3 separate regions of the Homo sapiens genome follow, and regions 2 and 3 are each linked to region 1. The links are contacts of gene promoters, found by promoter capture Hi-C in human tissues and cell types (Jung and others, 2019). All regions are on one chromosome and are shown on one strand. Each heading gives the region's core, a stretch centred on a gene start or on the middle of the fragment in contact. The rest is flanking DNA. Distances are from core to core; before and after follow the strand shown. Region 1 holds the start of MARK3 (microtubule affinity regulating kinase 3). Region 2 holds the start of CDCA4 (cell division cycle associated 4). Region 3 overlaps CINP (cyclin dependent kinase 2 interacting protein).

Region 1 (2,866 bases), core at 124-2,623:
GGAAGGAGGACAGCGAAGCCCCCAGCGGGTGTCCCTCAGCTAGGCAGTGAGTGGCAGAGCAGAGCTTCACTATACATCTGCTTTTCAAAATGTTTAACCAACTCCTTCAAAAAAGATTTGTATGGAAAGGAAACTGCCTTAATAAAGGCTGCGCGCTAGTGTTTTGGAATTCCTAAGGGGACCGCAAAGATCCCTCAGTGGACACTTAGTGACTGTGATTAAATTTAGTTCCAGACCATCTTAAAGAACGAGACCGCCCACTTGACCCAATCGATTACTCTTAATCAGCACCGGTAACATATGTTATTAATGTGACAGTCTCTCAAGAACTGCCTGACCAAGTTAAAAGCAGAGTTCGGCTAAAATAAGCACTGACCACTGCAGTGATCTGACACACACGTTTGCACAATCCATTGCGCGGCAACCTGGCCTCTCAAAGCACCGATCCGTAACGCTGCAACTCCTGGGCTTTATTAACCGACTAGACTGCCGGCATAATCGATGTACTTCGCAGACCCGCCCGCGAACAGCGGGACACGGCAGACTTCTGGAGGAAACGGTCCGACCTGGCTGCCTCCTGGGTGACTACGGCCTGCCCTCTATTTCCAGAGCGTTCGGCTGGGGGGAACACCCGACTGCAAGGCACTGCCCGAGGAGCACGAATGCCACCCCGAAGGTCCGCCAACTACAACGCCCAGGTTACTTACGTTTTCAGTGTCTCGTTCATTCACCGTTGGCAATGGGGTCCTAGTGGACATTTTACTGCACTTTAATTCTGCACAATGCGAGGGTCAAAACAAAACAGCACAGCCCTAGGAGGCCGGCGACCAGCGTCCTCGAGTCCACGGCAGTTCCGAAAAGGCGCCGTGGGGAGGGCGGCTCCCTTCCCCCTACGGCCGTCTAGATCCCGGGCCTGGCCCGGGCCGTCCCCCGGCGGGTCCCGGGGCTCATTCTCTCCCTGCCTCGGCGGCCGAGGCGAGGAGACCGGGAGGGCGGCAGTGGCGGAGCCGAGCCTGCGGGCGGCGGGCTGCGCTTCGGCCCGCCGGCGTCCCCTTGCCTCAGGGCGCCCCGCGATCCTGGGCCCCCTCACCTCCTTCTCCACTCCCTCCCGTCGCACCGCGAATTTCAGCTCGCGGGCCTCCACACAGCGCCGCCGGCGGCGCCTGAAAACGAGGAGGCGGAGGAGGATGTGAAGGAAGTGGAGCGCAAGACAGGCCGCCGCGGGCTGTGGGCGCCGACCATGGAGCGGGCTGCGGAGGAGGCGCCTGCGCCCGACTGCTTCTCCCTCTCTAGCGAGCTTGCTGCCTCAGCCTCCGCCCTGCTGGCCGCCGCTGCCGCCGCCGCACCCCGGCACCTCAGAGCCTCACGGAGCCAAGATGGCCGCCCCTCGGCTTCCTCTGCTGCCTCCGGCTGCCGGAAGTGACGACAGGCCGCCACCCGGAGTCCCGCCAATCAGCATGGCCTGAGAAAGCCGGCCCGGCTGTTGTTGCTAGGGGCGACTTGGTCCAGACCTCGCCGCGGGGGCGGTGCAGAGGGCTGGATAGTGCTGGTCGGGTCTCCGCTGACTCCCGCGGGCTGCGGGTTCCTCCTGTCCCGAGCGCGCCGGCAACCGCGAAAGAGCCGAGAAACGGCTCTGGGCGACAGCCAGAGCCCTCCCGCTGAGTTGGCATTTACACACTACAGGCCTGGGTTGGCTGGATTACAGATCGAGAGCCTATTGTGCGCAAAAGTTGCGGTTGCATCCCTGGGACTGCGCTGCACCGAATGGAGCCCCAGCATTAATTAATGACAGGGCCGGGGCTACGGGAAGGCGCCGGGCTCTTGCATCCTTAACTGTGACCCGGGAGTCAGGTTCTCGCCAACAAACCTTCCCGTCTCCGGATCTGAGCAGCTGCGGGCTGGGCGCGGACCCTGAGGGCAGCAGGCGCCTCTTGCCCTCAAGGAGCTGGTGGTCAGACGGGTGACAGACCCGGACCCAGCTAAATGCCATCCGGATGGAAGAGTGCAATAACGAGGGTGGCACAAAGGGGATGGGTTTGGGGGCGAAATGAATCTGTAGAGGACCCCAGGGACCAGCTTCCAAATGCCTGTAGGGGGTTTATAAGCAGGCTTTTCTTACAGTCAGTGCGTTGCTGCTGGAAGACTGGAAGCATCTCTGGGTGCCAGCCTCGGGCCAGGCTCGGTAGATGCCTGCAGGCTGGAACACTGGAAATGCTACCTGACCTGGAAGCCTTCCTTGCCCATTCACCTCTTCACGTGCTCGGTGCCTCTACTCAGCTCCTGGCCAGCGGTGGATGGAATCCATGGGTGCAGGGTCCGAAGAGGGAGAGTAGTGTGAGATGGGGGTGACACGAACTGTTACCGAGAGTCGAGTCTACCTTGTGGGTTCATGACATTTGTTACCTCATTTAGCCTCAGGGTAACCCTATGAGATGGGCAGACACACATGCGATCCGAAGTCTAGACAGGTACAGTGACTTGGCTAAAGTACACAGGTTGGTTAGCGACAGAGCTGGGATTCTAACCTAGCTCCCAAAGCTTGGATAATAGGTAAGCCCTTGTAGTGGGGGGCTATGTCATGCTTGCTTTCCCTTTGGTCCGTTGGCATCCCAACTCTCTTGCTATGTTTGAGACATTTCTTGCTCCACGAAATATATGTTTGTTGTTGTTGTTGTTGTTGTTGTTGTTTTGGGACGGAGTTTCGCTCTGTCGCCCAGGCTGGAGTGCAGTGGCGCGATCTCCACTCACTGCAAGCTCCACCTCCCGGGTTCACGCCATTCTCCTGCCTCAGCCTCCCGAGTAGCTGGGACTGCAGGTGCCCACCACCATGCCTGGCTAATTTTTTTTGTATTTTTAGTAGAGATGC
Region 2 (2,866 bases), core at 214-2,713, 1.6 Mb before region 1:
TTCCAGCCTTCCTGCCACCTCCTCCAAATCTATTACCAACAGTGATTCTTGGTGGTTGTGGTGCCTCATGCCTGTAATCCCAGAACTTTGGGAGGCCAAGGTAGGAGGATCACTTAAGGCCAGGAGTTGGAGACCAGCCTGTGTAACAAGACAATACCCTGTCTCTACAAAATTACCAAAAAAAAAAAAAAAGTTAGCTTGGTGTAGTGGCACACTTCTGTAGTCCCAGCTACTTGGGAGGCTGAGGCGTGAGAATCACTCGAGCACAAGAGTTCGAGGATACAGTGAGCCATAATCACGCCACTGTTGTCCAGCCTGGGCGAAAGAGACCCCCTTTTTTTTTTTTTTAAATAAGAACAGTGATTCTTTTCAAGCACAATTCAGATTCCAGTTCCTTCTCTGCTGACCATGCCAGTAGTCTCCATCCCACTCCCAGAATAGCCCAAAAGTCCCTCCACCCCTCACACTTAAAACTTTCCCACGAGATCACAGGGTTCTTTCTCACTGCACTGAGACGTGCTCCTGCCTCCTGCCCCTGCCTCGGGCTTTGCCCCAGCCATTCCTCTCCTGAATTCTCGTCCACTCTTCCTTTTGGTGCTTTAAGACGCTCCTTATCCTAGAGACCTATGTGAGCAGCGCCCCCACGTCACTCCCAGGTTTCCCGACAGCATTTCAGCATTTACCACCGACCTTGGCGCATCCGCACCTGCGGATTGATCTGAGGATTCCCCCCCAACTTCCAGCACTTGGCTCTCAGCTGCAGCCACGCCTGCCGGGCCTGCTGCAGGCGCTCAGGGTATTACTTAAGTCAATGATTGCAGGTTCTCGCATCCTATTTAAAACCTTTTCCACTAAGAGATTTAAAACACGTGTCCCCTGCTTTGAACTTTCACGTTACATTTCTTACGTGTAAACCTAGGAAGCCTTTGGAGATAACCCCGGTCTCTGGAGAGGCTTGGATAGACCTCGGAGCCCAGACCGCCCGGGAATTGCCGTGCCCGGCTCCTCCCGACCCCGGCACGGATGCCTCGGCGGAGAAGTTGAGCCAGGCAGAAGCGAGAGAGTCCAAACCTCTGTTTGCCCCGCCACGCCCGCCCGAGGGCCCCACGTGGGCCCCAGGCGCAGGCGCGTTCAGTTCAGGGCCAGACGCGCGGAGACCTGGGAGCTGGCGGGGCGGGGCCGGACTGGGCGCGGGGAGACCTGGGAGCCGGCGGGGCGTGGGCGTGGCGGGGCCGGGCGCAGGGGCGGGGGCGGGGCAACCGAGGGCGCGCGCGAGCCCCAACGGCCGTCGCCGCAGCGCGGGAAGACGCGCCACAGATGCCCCGCCCGCGTGGGTTTGAACAAGAGGCCCCGCCCCCGGCCCGCGAGTGGCCAATCAGCGGGCGTAGCGCGCGGAGAGCGCAGCGTCGACCCTTTGTGGACGCCGAGTGGCGGTCGCTCGCCCCGCCCCGCGCCGTCGGGCGCTCCTTCCTCAGCGGCGGGAAGCTGGCGGCAGCGGCGGTGGCGGTGGCTGAGCAGAGGACCCGGCGGGCGGCCTCGCGGGTCAGGTGAGCGGGCCCGGCGGACCGCTAGGGCGTCTACGGCGGCGTGCACTTTTGTGCTGCAGGGCGCGGAGGAGCCTGGGGGCGGTGCGCGGAGTCTGTGGCTCCTGGCGCTGGGTCCGGGGCGGAGGCGGCGCCCGGGACCACCGCTGGGGCTGCCGCGGCGCCCTCGCCGCCCTCCTGGGCGCTGGTTCCCCCGCGGGGTGGCCGCTGCTGAGGGGGCCCGGGGAACAGAGGGGCCCGGGCCGCCGTCTGCGTTCCTTGCGGAGCGCGGAGCTGGGGCTTTGCCGAGGCCTGCGGGCGGCCCCACGCGGGAGCCGCTTCACGAGGGCCCGGCTGGGGTACGCAGCGGCGTTTCCCGTACCTCGGCTCTAGTTGCAGCGGAGGGAACGCCAGGCGCGCCGCAGCCCCCTCTGTCGGAGCCCGGCCGCGGAGAGGGCCGCGGATGTGGGAGGAGGCCCAGACCCCGGGCGGGTCGGCCAGCGCCGTCTTCCCTGGGCTCCTCCGGCGGTGCGAGGTGGGACTAGGGAAAGTCCCCGAGACACTTGCAGAAGTCAGACGCAAGCCTCCCTCCGCGTCTTCAGACGCTTCTCGCCCCGCAAACAGGATCGTCGTGGCAAAGGCTCCGACAGCTTGCTGGAATAGAGGGTCTCCGCTGCCTCGCTTCTCCTGTGGCCTTCGTGTGGGACGCACGGGACGGCGGGACCCAGATAACCGTTCTCTCAAAGCGAGCCACAGAAAAACATTGCCTGTTCACAAAACTTACGTTTTATCAACTTTCTACGTACAACCACTCTATTTTCAAGTGTCACCGTGTTTTATAATTAGGGTGGAAATCCAGAATACAAAGTGAGTTACACCCCTTTTCTAGGAAGAGTAGTAGGCTGTATCTTGGAAAAGGGGCTAGGAAGTTTCCCTCAACTTGCCACTGGAACATGTTTTCAGGGAAAAGAAGGAGTGTGTTTCGTTCCAAGTAACAAAAGTACCTGCAATTGGCTGGGCGCGGTAGCTCACACCTCCCAGCACTTTGAGAGGAGGCCTAGGCGGGTGGATCTCCTGAGGTCCCGAGTTCGAGACTAGCTGGCCAACGTGGTGAAACCCCGTCTGTACTAAAAATACAAAAATTAGCTGGGCGTGATGGCGCATGCCTGTAATCATAATCCTAGCTATGTGGGAGGCTGAGGCAGGAGAATCGCTTGAACCAGAAAGGCAGAGGTCTCAGCCGAGATCGTGCCATTGCACTCCAGCCTGGGCGACAGAGCGAGACTCCGTCTCAAAAAACAAAAAAAACCAAATACCTGAAATTAACATAACAGTAATTGTTC
Region 3 (2,866 bases), core at 201-2,700, 1.0 Mb after region 1:
GTAAAAACCATCTTAGCTTATGGGCCATACAGAAATAGGCTATGGGCCAGAATTGACCTGTGTTCCAGGGATAGTTTGCCCATCCCTGATACAGCACGTAAGAGACTAAAGTGTTTGTTTAATGAACTAATAACTAAATTTCAATACCTACCATACTGGCCACCAGATGTGAAGATAACACCACCTTATTTCTTTGCTAGGCACAGGAAATCAGGTTTTACACATATTTGAACTTGGATAACTGAAGCTTACCCATAAACATTTAAGATCTTTATATTTTCACCTTTTTGTTTGTTTGGAGACAAGGTCTCGCTGTGGAATGCAGTAGTATGATCACAGCTCACTGCAGCCTTTACTTCCTGGGCTTAAGTGATCTTCTTGCCTCAGCCTCCCGAGTAGCTGGGACTACAAGCATGAACCATCATGCCCGGCTAATTTTTAAAATTCGTTTGTACAGACGGGGTTCTCATGTTGGCCAGGCTGGTCTCGAACTCCTGACATGAAGTGATCTTCCCACCTTGGCCTCCCAAAGTGCTGGGATCACAGGTGTGAGCCCTGGCGCCCTGCCTTAGCTTTTCCGTCATGTCTTGTTTTGGCTTCAGGATCCTGTATGACATCGAGTCCCCTTGTTTCCTCAGGCTCCTTTTGGCCGTGACAGTTTCTCAGACTTCCCTGTTTTTGATGACTTTGACAATGTTGAGGGATACTGGTCAGGTATTTTGTAGAACATCATGAGATTTATCTGATGTTTTTCTCCTAATTAGACTGAGGTTACGGGTTTTGTTCAGAGGAGGACCACAGAAGTAAAGTGCCATTTCTATCATGTCATATCAAGGGCACGTACTGGATATACTGTCATCAGGACTTTTCTTTGGGTCCCACCTATTGCCCGGGCTGGTCTCAAACTCCTGGGCTCAAGCAGTGCTCCCACCTCAGCCTCCCAAAGTGCTGGGATTCCAGGCGTGAGCCACTGTGCACAGCCAGGACTTTCCACTGCTGAAGTTGACCTTGATCACCTGGCTGGGCAGTGTTTCCAGGTTCCTCTGCTGTGACGTTGCTCTTTCTCCTCCTCCCACGCTGTGCTCTTTGGCAGGAAGTCACTATGCATAGCCCACACCTGGGGGTAGGGACGTATTCACCACCTGCTTGAGGGTGCAGTATCTACATAAATTATTTGGAATTATTCTGCGTGGGAGATTTGTTCCCTCCCTCCCATTTGTTAATTTTTTTTTTTTTTGAGATGGAGTTTCACTCTTGTTGCCCAGGCTGGAGTGCAGTGGGGTGATCTCTGCCCACTGCAACCTCTGCCTCCTGGGTTCAAGTGATTCTCCTGTCTCAGCTTCCCAAGTAGCTGGGATTACAGGTGCCTGCCACCACACCCAGCTAATTGTTGTATTTTTATTTGTTTTTTTTTAATTTTTGTTTTGGCCAGGCGCAGTGGCTCATGCCTGTAATCCCAGCACTCTAGGAGGCCGAGGCAGGTGGATCACCTGAGGTCAAGAGTTTGAGACCAGCATGGCCAACATAGTGAAACCCCATCTCTACTAAAAATACAAAAAATTAGCTGGGGGTGGTGGCAGGTGCCTGCAATCCCAGCTACTTGGGAGGCTGAGGCGGGAGAATCACTTTCGGAGGTTGCAGTTAGCCGAGATCAAGCCACTGCACTCCAGTCTGGGCCACAGAGTGAGACTCCGTGTCAAAAAAAAGAAAAAAAGAAAAAGAAAAGTGGTTTGGGAATAAGTTCTCATTCTATGTTCAAAACCAAAAGTTGATTTTATAGGGTATTATTATTTTTCCTATTTTCCTCTATCCGTTATAGAGAATGGTTTCCAGACCTGGTCTGTGTCTTTCATAACTTTGACCTTCTGGGGGTTTCATGCACCGTTCTTCCTAAGCTGGGCTAACATTTCACTGTGGTCTGTGTTTGCTGTGGGAAGAAGCCACCGATGTTGAAATGTAAGGGCCTGCTGTTTATGCACTGTTCATTCAGGGCTGCACGTGCCTATGTGACTTGAATTCTTTATTGATGGCTGAGCTGCAGGATTGAGCATGACTTCTTGCCTGGGGTCAAGGCTCCAGAATTTTCCTTAGTCTCCTGTTATCAGCTTTTCTTAGAATCAGGTGGCACCAGGGAGCTGCTGCAGGACTCACAGGAAAGAGCAGAGGATTGGGTGTTAAAACTTGGTGTCGGCTGGGCGCGGTGGCTCACGCCTGGAATCCCAACACTTTGGGAGGCTGAGGTGGGCGGATCACAAGGTCAGGAGATCGAGACCATCCTGGCTAACACAGTGAAACCCCAGCTCTGCTAAAAGTACCAAAAAAATTAGCCAGGCACAGTGGCGGGCGCCTGTAGTCCCAGCTACTTGGGAGGCTGAGGCAGGAGAATGGCATGAACCCGGGAGGCGGAGGTTGCAGTGAGCGGAGATCGCGCCACTGCACTCCAGCCTGGGTGACAAAGCGAGACTCTGTCTCAAAAAAAACAAAAACAAAAACAAAAACAAAAAAACTTGGTGTCAGAAGGCATGGTATCGAGTTCTGGCCTCATCCTTCCTCAGCTCAACCTTAAGCAATTTCCCAGCTGTGAAACGGAAATGACAAGTCCTGCCTCTTGGGGTTGGGCCAAATAAAATATCAAACCTTAAAAGATTTGGGAAACTACTTAAGTAAAGTCCTTTAAAAATTAACGTTAGCTGAATTTAGTGCTTGCCACTTCCAATGTAATTGGAGGGTGGTTGGAAGGACCAAGTAAAGGAATTAAGATATTTGACAATTTATATATCTTTTCTTATTTCCCCTTTTTCATATTTATGTATGTAAAGTCAACTATACTTAGGAGTTCAAAATTTGGTCTTTATAGACCTATGCT

The links. Contacts are between HindIII fragments. The study calls those that stand out against the background at their distance.
Region 2: a contact is called between the fragment with the promoter of CDCA4 here and the fragment with the promoter of MARK3 in region 1, in 1 of the 25 tissues and cell types used here (small bowel).
Region 3: a contact is called between a fragment that was not itself captured here and the fragment with the promoter of MARK3 in region 1, in 1 of the 25 tissues and cell types used here (dorsolateral prefrontal cortex).

What each region holds. Positions count from the first base shown.
Region 1 is chr14:103,383,922-103,386,787 of GRCh38, reverse strand. It overlaps MARK3 (microtubule affinity regulating kinase 3), which reads right to left and starts at 1,373. Exons shown (of 18, transcript NM_001128918.3): 1 at 708-1,373. The coding sequence starts at 758. RefSeq lists enhancers at 437-626, 567-1,556, 1,557-2,548 and a silencer at 907-1,096. The HindIII fragment of the contact is 8,681 bases long and covers 1-2,866 here.
Region 2 is chr14:105,019,680-105,022,545 of GRCh38, reverse strand. It overlaps CDCA4 (cell division cycle associated 4), which reads left to right and starts at 1,463. Exons shown (of 2, transcript NM_017955.4): 1 at 1,463-1,547. RefSeq lists enhancers at 668-727, 743-1,256, 1,771-2,286, 2,738-2,866 and silencers at 1,028-1,097, 1,128-2,017, 2,028-2,117. The HindIII fragment of the contact is 13,458 bases long and covers 1-2,866 here.
Region 3 is chr14:102,351,509-102,354,374 of GRCh38, reverse strand. The region is part of intron 3 of CINP (cyclin dependent kinase 2 interacting protein); the gene reads left to right. Among named protein-coding and RNA genes, the nearest start is that of CINP, 9.9 kb to the left of the region's middle. The HindIII fragment of the contact is 9,147 bases long and covers 1-2,866 here.